Linked DNA regions of Homo sapiens: region 2 is linked to region 1. The links are contacts of gene promoters, found by promoter capture Hi-C in human tissues and cell types (Jung and others, 2019). All regions are on one chromosome and are shown on one strand. The core of a region is centred on a gene start or on the middle of the fragment in contact, and the rest is flanking DNA. Distances in the headings are between cores, read along the strand shown.

Evidence for each region. The method cuts DNA at HindIII sites, captures the fragments that hold promoters and counts their contacts. A contact is called where the count stands out against the background at its distance.
Region 2: a contact is called between a fragment that was not itself captured here and the fragment with the promoter of SPRYD3 in region 1, in 2 of the 25 tissues and cell types used here (dorsolateral prefrontal cortex and liver).

The regions. Positions count from the first base shown.
Region 1 is chr12:53,077,533-53,082,765 of GRCh38, forward strand. SPRYD3 (SPRY domain containing 3) reads right to left here and starts at 1,858. Exons shown (of 11, transcript NM_032840.3): 1 at 1,779-1,858. The coding sequence starts at 1,801. RefSeq lists a silencer at 1,559-1,838. The HindIII fragment of the contact is 7,407 bases long and covers 1-5,233 here.
Region 2 is chr12:53,316,569-53,321,892 of GRCh38, forward strand. AAAS (aladin WD repeat nucleoporin) reads right to left here and starts at 5,042. Exons shown (of 16, transcript NM_015665.6): 1 at 4,775-5,042; 2 at 3,997-4,124. The coding sequence starts at 4,897. RefSeq lists enhancers at 3,581-3,670, 4,889-5,078, 5,159-5,208. The HindIII fragment of the contact is 4,789 bases long and covers 1,681-5,324 here.

The sequences.
Region 1 (5,233 bases), core at 608-3,107:
ACATAATTTCAGGCAGTGGAGAAAAGAACAGGGTGATATGATAAAGAATCTGGAGGCAGTGGATAGAGTGGACAGAGGCGGTCTCTCTGAGGAGGTGACATTTGAGTTGAAAAGGAGCTAGGCATGACAAGCCAGGCATATTCCAGGCAGGAAGGGCAGCCACAGGTCCTTGGATGGAAGAGAGCTGGCATGGTAGAGAAACAGAAAAAGGCATGGACAGCTGGTATATAGGGAATGTGAGGGAGAATGTACAAGATGAGAATAAGGCAGGAGTCAGATCATGGCCCTACAGACAATGAAATGGTAAGGACTCTGGATTTTATTCCAAGATGGAAATTTCTGGAGGGTTGTAAGCAAGGAAATGCCATGATTGGCTGGGTATGATGGCTCATGCCTGCAATCCCAGCACCTTGGGAGGCTGAGGCAGGAGGATCGCTTGAGGCCAGGACCCAGACCAGCCTGGGCAACGTAGTGAGACCTCATCTCTACTAAAAATTAAAACAATGAGCCAGGTGTGGCAGCATGCACCTGTAGTCCCAGCTACTAAGGAGACTGAAGATGGCTTGAGTCTGGCAGGTCAAGGCTGCAGTCAGTTCTGATTGTGCCACTACATTCCAGCCTGGCTGACAGAGCAAGACCCTGTCTCAAAAAAAAAAGAAAAAAAAATGCCATGATCCTGGGCCTGGTGGCTCACGTCTGTGATCCCAGCACTTTGGGAGGCCGAAGTGGGAGGATCACAAGGTCAGAAGTTGAAGACCAGCCTGACCAACATGGTGAAACCCCATCTCTACTAAAAATACAAACAAATTAGCCAGGCGTGGTGGTGCGCACCTGTAATCCCAGCTACTCAGGAGGCTGAGGCAAGAGAATTGCTTGAACCTGGGAGGTGGAGTTTGCAGTGAGCCGAGATCGTCCCACTGCACTCCAGCCTGGGTGACAGAAACTCCATCTCAAAAAAAAAAAAAAAAGCCACGATCTTAATCAGTTCCTAAAGATCATTCCAGCTGCTGGTTGGAGAACTGATCACAAGAGGATCAAGAACAGATGTGGGCAAACAATTCAGACGTTGTTGCAGCAGTTCACATGAGAAATGACATCCACTAAGTCGGTAGCAGCGCCGATGGATGGGGGTGGGATGATCCAGGTATTTAAACAACCATCAGTCCCTACATATAAATGAATGAATGATTTTTCCTGGGAGCCAAAAGTGAGAAAGAGGTGAAGTACTCTTCTCTTCCCATTCCCTAAACACTGGGACAGGGGTTTTCTTGAGGCCTGACATTGCCTTGCACACGGTAGGTGCTTAGTAAGCCTTGGCTGGGCTGAATTTGATCCCAATACGCAAATTACGACTCTTATGCAGTAGCTACAACCCACCACGTGGCCCAGAAGAGTAGGCACCTGTGGGACAGACAGCCCTAAGATTCCACTCCCGGGCACTCAGCCAGGACTCAACCCCAGGTAGATGCTGGTTGCGCAGACCCCACAGTCTTGGCACCGGCGAGTGGCGGCCCTACTGGGCCCTGTCTCCTCCCCGGGCACGGCCTGATCACTGAGATGAGACCCGGGAGCAGCCGGGCCCCAGCCCATCCGTGTGCCTACGCCCAGTCTCCCCAGGCCCTGCACTGGGCCGAGGGTGCAGCAACAGAAGAAGCCCAGTGACCAGAGCGCAGGGCCCCGCCCCTGGCCCCAGAGCCCCCGCCCAGGACCCCCGCCTTCCGCTTCAGGCTCCGGGGAGATACGAGGCCTCCGGGACCCCGCCCCCGATCCCCGCCTACCGGGGCCGCCGCGTCCTCCTCATCCATAGGCCTCTCAGCTCCGCACACAAGCTCTTCGGCCGCCGCCACCACACACATCCGGGTCCCCGCCTTTCCTTCACTCCTAGAGGCCCGCCCCGTCCCCCATCTAAGCCAATCAGCAACGGCCTCTGACGACGGGCACCTGCAGGAGCCAATCGGAAGGCGCAGGCAGGGTGTGGGGCGCGGCCCGGTGCCCTGGGTACCCAGCTCAGGGCCCCGGTCTGGTCAACCCGGCTGTTGCTGGGGTGAGCGAAGGCGACGTGGCAGCGCGGACGCTGCTGGGTGCCTGGGCGCCGCTGAGGCGGACAGGGGGCGGCTCTTGAGCGGCGCCGGGGAGACGGGACGGGCGGAGAAGGTGGCCACGCTCGCACAAACGTTGCGAGTATTACTTGAGCCCTCCTTCCGCGCTGGACTGAAATAAAAGCTTTACCGGAATGTCCATTTAATCCACGGTGCAGCCTTATGAAATAAATCTTATCTCCTTTTTACGGATGGGCCGAAGGCTGGCCTCGATAGCCTGCGCGCTTAACTGTTATGCTGTGTACCCTCCCGAGCTCTGTTTCATGGCACCGCTCGCTCATTATTGGCAAGAACATTCCATTCCAGGAGGAGAGAACTGGGGATGCAGAAGGCACAGTGGCACGAAGCGGCATTCTGTGGAGGAACACAGGGCTTTGGTAGGCTGAAGGAAAGTTAGACTGGGGTTAGAATGTGAAGGGACGAAGACACGAATATTTATTGAACACCTACTAGGGAGTGCCTACCTGCCATTCTGGGGGGTTGGACTCCTAGATGAGGACTTCCTTGCTCCCTTCCCATCACCATATCTCTCTCTTCTGGACGGAAAAGATTCCTCTCCTCTGTAGCACCTCATTTATAATACTTTTTTTTTTGAGACGGAGTCTCACTCTGTCGCCCAGGCTGGAGTGCAGTGGCGCGATCTCGGCTCACTGCAAGCTCTGCCTCCTGGGTTCACGCCATTCTCCTGCCTCAGCCTCCCAAGTAGCTGGGACTACAGGCGCCCGCCACCACGCCAAGCTAATTTTTTTTGTATTTTTGGTAGAGACGGGGTTTCACCGTGTTAGCCAGGATGGTCTCGATCTCCTGACCTCTTGATCCGCCCACCTCGGCCTCCCAAAGTGTTGGGATTACAGGCGTGAGCCACCGCCCCCCGCCATTTATAACACTTATTACCGTCTTGCTTTCGTTATTGGAGTTACTTGTGTGTGTAGACCCGTCTCTGCTAGACTGTGAGCTCCTTCAGACCCCAGACTATTCTATTCTTATCACACTAGGTACTCTAACGTGTTGAGTGCCAGGAAAGCCATCAGCTCGCATACCGTGAATAGTGCCCACTCGGCATAACGGCAATGGGTGATAGGAATAGATGAGATGGGAAACAGAGAAACCCGGATTAGAGCCCCAATTCTGTGTGACTAAAAGGTCAAGGTCTTGGTGTTCTCATCCCTAAACAAGAATTATTGAAGTATGTGTTCTTTTAGCTCCCTTCCAGCCCCTGGATGACTCAGTTCTGAATAGCTACCCTTCCAACTCATCTCCACCTCCTTTTGATTCCCTCATTGCTTCTCCTCCGCTCCTCTTCTTGTGTTATGAAAATACCTCAACACTGAGCTCAGCTCTTCCCAAAGGCAGCCAGAGAGGGACAATCTTAGGAGGCTGCCAGAGTCATGTTCATCCCAGACCAGGGCTCATTCCAGAAACTAACTAGCTAGGTGGCTAGGGTCAGACATGGAGAGAAATGGCAGAAGAAGGCATTTCCAAACTGTTACTGATGGTTGGTGATTCCACTCGGGATTTCCTCACCTTTAAGTTCCAGATGTGGGGCTCACCTTTTTGGCGAATTCTCCATCCATTGGCATGCTCAGGACCCAGTTGGTAATTTGTGTTTGGTGTCTACATGTATTTGAATAAACAACTTTATTGCCATATAACCGACATACAATAAACCATATATATTTAAGGTGTACAATTTATTCCTTTCTTTTTTTAATTAGAGACGAAGTCTCACTGTGTTGCCCAGGCTAGTCTCAAACTCCTGAGCTCAAGCAACCCTCCCACCTCAGCCTCCCAAAGTTCGAGGATTACAGGTATGAGCCACTGCACCTAGCCAAGGTATACAATTTGATAAGCTACTTATATACCTATGAAAATGAAAATGTCACCACACCCAAGATAGTGACCATATCATCATCATCCCTAAAAATTTCCTCATGCTCCTTTATAATCCCTCTCTCTCACTCTTTCATCCCTAGGAACCACTAATCTGCTTTTTGAAACTTTTTTTTTTGAGACAGAGTCTCACTCTGTCGCCCAGGCTGGAGAGCAATGGGGCAATCTTGGCTCACTACAACCTCCACCTCCCGGGTTGAAGGGATTCTCCTGCCTCAGTTTCCCAAGTAGCTGGGATTATAGATGCCCGCCACCACGCCTGGCTAATTTTTGTATTTTTAGTAGAGACGGAGTTTCACTATGTTGGCCAGGCTGGTCTTGAACTCCTGCCTCAGCCTCCCAAAGTGCTGGGATTACAAGCATGAGCCACCGCGCCCAGCCCACTAATCTGCCTTTTTGTCACTATCTTAGTTAGCATTTCCTAGAATTTTATGTAAGTGGAATCATACAGTAAATCCTCTTTGAGGAGGGATGTGTCTGGCTTCTTTTGTTCAGCGTAATTACCTTGAGAGATTCATCCATATTGTTGTTTGTGTTAATAGTTTTTATTTATTTATTTATTTGGGGCAGGGTCTTGCTCTGTTGCCCAGGCTGGAGAGCAATGGCGTGATCAAGGCTTATTGCAACTTCAAACTCCTGGCCTCAAGTGATCCTCCCACCTTGGCCTCTCGATTGTTCCTTTTTATTGCTGAATAGTATGCTATTGTTGGAATATATTACAATTTATTTATTCACTTGTTGATGGACATTTGGATTTTTTCAGTTTTTGGCTATTACAAATAAAGCTATGATGAATATTCATGTACAAGTCTTTGTATGGACATATTTCATCTTCTTTTTCTTTTTATTGAGATGGAGTCTCACCCTGTCACCCAGGCTAGAGGGCAGTGGCATGATCTTGGCTCACTGCAACCTCCACCATCCAGGTTCAAGTGATTCTTGTGCCTCAGCCTCTCAAGTAGCTGGGACTACAGGCATGTGCCACCACGCCTGGCTAATTTTTTTTTTTTTGTATTTTTAGTAGAGATGGGGTTTCACCGTATTGGCCAGGCTGGTCCAGAACTCCTGACCTCACGTGATCTGCCCACCTTGGCCTCCCAAAGTGTCATTTTCTCTTAAGTAAATATCTAGGAGTGAATGGCTCAGTCACATGGTAGATGTACGGTTCTTAATTGGTTAAAAAGCATCACACTGTTTTCAGAAGTAGTTGTATCATTTTACATTCCTATCAGCAGTGTGTGAGT
Region 2 (5,324 bases), core at 2,825-5,324, 240 kb after region 1:
CCATCCTGGCCAACATGGTGAAACATGTTGAAAAATATGAAAATTAGCCAGGTGTGGTGGTCCATGCCTATAATCCCAGCTACTCCATAGGCTGAGGCAGGAGAATCGCCTGAACCCGGGAGGTGGCGATTGCAGTGAGCCAACATCGTGCCACCACACTCCAGCCTGGGCAACAGAGCAAGACTCCATCTCAGACAAAAAAAAAAAAAAAAAAAAAGAAGAGAAAAAATAGAAAAAGTCCAGGTGCAGTGGCTCAACCCTAGCACTTTGGGAGGCCAAGGCAGGTGGATCGCCTGAGCTCAAGAGCTTGAGACCAGCCTAGGCAACATAGGGAAATGCTGTCTCTACAAAAAAAAATACAAAACTTAGGCAGGTGTGGTGGCACATGCCTGTAGTCCCAGCTACTTGGGAGGCTGAGGAAGGAGCATCACTTGAGCCCTGGGGGCTGACAATGCAGTGAGCCGTGTTCCATGTTTGCGCCACTGCACTCCACACTGGGCAACAGAGCAAGATGCTGTCTCAAAAAATAATAATAATAATAGAGAAAAATAAATCAGTTAAGAATCTACTTCAGGGCCGGGTGCGGTGGCTCACACCTGTAATCCCAGCACGCTGGGAGGCCAAGGCAGGTGGATCACGAGGTCAGGAGTTCGAGACCAGCCTGGTCAAGATGGTGAAACCTCATCTCTATTAAAAATACAAAAATTGGCCAGGTGCGGTGGCTCACACCTGTAATCCCAGCACTTTGGGAGGCTGAGGCGGGCGGATCACAAGGTCAAGAGATCAAGACCATCCTGGCTAACACGGTGAAACCCCATCTCTACTAAAAATACAAAAAATTAGCCAGGTGTGGTGGTGGGCGCCTGTAGTCCCAGCTACTCGGGAGGCTGAGGCACGAGAATGGAGTGAACTCGGGAGGCGAAGCTTGCAGTGAGCCGAGATCGTGCCACTGCACTCCAGCCTGGGCAACAGAGCGAGACTCCGTCTCAAAAAAAAAAAACCAAAAAAATAAAACAAAACAAAAATTAACCAGGCGTGGTGGTGTGCACCTGTAGTCCCAGCTACTCAGAGGCTGAGGCAGAAGAATTGCTTGAACCCAGGAGGCGGAGGTTGCAGCGAGCTGAGATCACGCCACTGCACTCCAGCCTGGGTGACAAAGTGAGACTCTGTCTCAAAAAAAAAAAAAGAATCTACTTCAGGAACCTAGGAAAAAGGTGAAAGTGGCCTGAACTGGTGGGGATGAAGAAAAAGAGACAGATTTGAGAGATTTAGGAATTAGCATAAACAAGATGTGAAGACTAATCAGACATTAGTAAAGGAAAGAGCAATACAACAGAAACACCTAGGTAATAATTACATCAGCTAATATGCTTACAATGTGCCAGCTCTGGACTAGGTGCCTCACATTAACTAATCAAGCCATTATGACAATCCTACAAGATAGGTATTGTTATCACTGCATTTATTTTTATTTTATTGAGACAGGGTCTTGCTCTGTGACCCAGGCTGGAGTGCAATATCACCATCACGGCTCGCTGCAGCCTCAATCTCCTGAGCTCAGGTATTCTTGCCTCGGCCTCCCGAGGAGCTGAGACTACGGGTGCACACCATCATGCCCAGCTAATTTTTAAATTTTTTGTAGAGATGGGGTTTCAGTGTGTGTGTGTGTGTGTGTGCGTGTGTGTGTGTGTGTGTGTGTGTGTGTTAAGACGGAGTCTCACTCTGTCACCCAGGCTGGAGTGCAGTGGTGTGAACTCGGCTCACTGCAACCTCTACCTCCTGGGTGCAAGCAATTCTTGCACCTCAGCCTCCTGAGTAATTAGGATTACACACGGAGTTTCACCACATTGGCCAGGCTGGTCTCGAACTCCTGACCTCAAGTGATACACCCGCCTTGGCCTCCCAAAGTGCTGGGATTACAGGCATGAGCTTCCGCGCCCAGACTATCACTGCATTTTTAGATGAGAGAACAAAGGTGTGAAGAGGCTAATTAATATGAACAAGGTAATCTAAGTAGAAAGTAGCAGTCAGGATTCAACCATCTATCTACCCCAGAACCTATACTCAAACCACTTTTTCCTGAATGAGTAATATGATCATTCCTTAAAGTGAACCATCCAGAGAAGCAGATTTGGAGAGAGAAATAAAGAGACTGGATTTGAGCATGCTGAATATATGAAGTCTGCGAAATATTCAAGCAGGATAATTTGGCAAACACGTGAACACCAGGTCTGATGCATCAACTGGAAATCTAGCCCCAAGAACACCAACATTTAAGGGACATCAGGAAGAGGAGCCACCAAAAACCCTGAGAAGCAGCAGCCACAGAAGTAGGAGACAAGGAGCCTGGGAATGAATGGCTTTTCAACAAACTGATATTCAACTTCACACACACAGGCATGCCCATTAAACTGTACTGAAGTACCAAAGATCAAAGCTTGACAGCACATGTGTTGGAAAACAGGCACTCCCATACACTGCTGGTGGGACCATATACATGTACCATTTTGACAGAGGGCTATTTGGAACAGCTCACAAAATTACAGATGAACATACCCTCTGAGCCAGCAACTTAATTTCTAGGAATTTATCCTACAAATGGTAATGGTATTAATAAAAATATTAAGTAACCCTTTTTTTTTTTTTGAGACAAGGTCTCACTCAGTGCCACTGCACTGGCACAATCTTGGCTCACTACAACCTCCACCTCCCAGGCTCAAGTGATCCTCCTATACATAAGCCTCCCAAGTAGCTGGGAATAAAGGTGCATGCCACCATACCCAGCTAATTTTTGTACTTTTCTTGTAGAGAAAAGAACATGGTTTCGCCATGTTCCCCAGGCTAGTCTCAAACTACTAAGCTCAAGCAATCTGCTGGCCTCAGCCTACCAAAGCGCTGGGATTATAGGCGTGAGTCACTGTGCCTGGCATAAATAACCCTTAAAGGAATTAATATGTGCCATTAATAGGTCCAGGTGCAGTAGCTGTAATCTCAGCACTTTGGGAGGCCAAGGCAGGCCTGAGGTCAGGAGGCCAGACCACCCTGGCCAACATGGTGAAATCTCATCTCTACTAAAATACAAAAAGTTAGCTGGGCGTGGTGGCACATGCCTATAGTACCAGCTACTCGGGAGGCTGAGGCAGGGGAACTGCTTGAACCAGAGAGGCGGAGGCTGCAGTGAGCCGAGATCGCACCTCTGCACTCCAGCCTGGCAACACAGCAAGACTCCGTCTCAAAAAAAAAAAAAAAAAAAAAAAGAAAAAGAAAATGAGCCGGGCGCGGTGGCTCACGCCTGTAATCCCAGCACTTTGGGAGGCCAAGGCGGGCACATCATCTGAGGTCGGAAGTTCAAGACCAGCCTGACCAACATGGAGAAACCCTGTCTCTACTAAAAATACAAAATTAGCTGGGCGTGGTGGCACATGCCTGTAATCCTAGCTACTCGGGAGACTGAGGCAGAAGAATCGCTTGAACCTGGGAGGTGGAAGTTGCAGTGAGCTGAGCACGCCACTGCACTCCAGCCTGGGCAACAAGAGTGAAACTCCATCTCAAAAAAAAAAAAGAAAATGAAACCAGGTAGTGTAGCTCCACTCCTACAAGTGCAAAGTGGATGACCTATGTAGGAGATTATTCAGTGCAACCTTATATCTGATCTTGCTGAGCTTCAGGTAAAAGCTCAGAAGTGGTAATGCCATGAGGTGGGGGCAGGGAGCAGGTTCACCTAATCAAGCCAGAAAGCAAGGCAAGTTACTAGAGATGAAATGGAAGTACTTTTTCCATAGTGTTCCTGGGAAGGGCAAGGAAGGGAACCTGACATTTATTGAGCATTTGAGTTCTATAATAAGGACTAAAAATTTCATATGATTTAGGATATACAGCTCTCGTGGAGACAGCCTGAATAAAAGTCTTTTGAAGAACACCCCAAGGTAAAGGGGTGTTGACTCATTTTCCAGGATCTGCAGACTGTGACCCAGGAAACCCTTTGCCATGCCTCACCAAATGTTGATGCATCTCTTCCACACTTGCTCCCGGTGATGGATGAAGGCAGTTCTTGTGCCATGGTCCAGCCTTCCAGGGGTCTTTAGGGGATCCTTTGTCAGTTGTAGGACAGGAAGATTGATCCACTATAGCACAAAAGTGAGGAGTGTGACGGTGATTCAGTCTCTTCCCAAATCTTTAATTCCGTGCCATCTCCAACCCACCGCTGGGCTAAGTATAAGAGATTCCAGAGGTCTGTTTCCCATTTCCACAAAGCTAACACTTGTGAGAATGGGAAACAAGTCTTAGCTCCCGTATCTGTGCAACTAGAATAATATTTCATAGGGTTGCTGTGATTATGAAACCATATGACATTTTTAGAAAACACCTGACTCAGCCTCTTTCTTACATAGCAAACGCTCAATAAATGTCAGTTTCCCTTCCTTGTCCTTCCCAGGAACACCATGGAAAAAAGTTCCATGTTGTATCCTTCTGATCCTCCCCAGATACTGTCCCCAACTTTTAGATAGTTCTCCCGCATCCTCACACTCCCTAGATTCTCCCTCATTCTCTCCATTCCCTCTAGGCCTCCTCCACAGCTCCTTAACCGTTCCCCCGTTATACTCCAATCCCAGTCCTAAAACAGATTCCAGCCCTTCTAGCCTCCTGCCGGGGCCAAGCTGTTTCCACTCCGCCAGACTCTGTGACCCTGCCCCTGTCACACTGCCTCCTTTCCCCAGTAGTCCCCGACTCCGCCCCCATGCCTGTAGGTCCCCTCCCTCCTCGCCCTGGCCACCTGGCCCCGGAAGTCGGGGGGCGGGCTCTCATAGCTACTGCCCGTCACCAGCTCGTTATTGTGCTCATATAGGGTGACTTGACCCCGAGGCGGTGGAGGAGGGAACAACCCCAGAGAGCACATCTTGCCGGTTCGCAGGACGTCTGCAGTCGGCAAACTCCTGGCCGGAACGGCACAGACCGCACTCCCGCAACTCGGTTCCCGGGCTAGATTCGTATGCGGACGGGTACCGCAAGGGACAAACGGCGAGGCGGAACTCAACGGAAGTGAAGAAAAGACTAACGGGAAAGAAGGACGAGTACGCGGTCCCGGGACAGACCTCCAAAGCTTCTTCCTGCGCCCCCTGGCGGCCGGAGGGGGAGCAGCGCGGACACGTCCCCCGGCCAACCGTTGGTTACCAGGCTGGAGTGGGGTTTTTTTCTGTTGTTTTCCATGAGACTACTGTTTTTCCCAGCTCCGAATTCCCGAACACCTTCTCCCACTCACTATCTTAGCGCTTAGAAAGCCCGAAATAAGCCACATTCAGGGAAGTACCAAATTAATCCTCCCA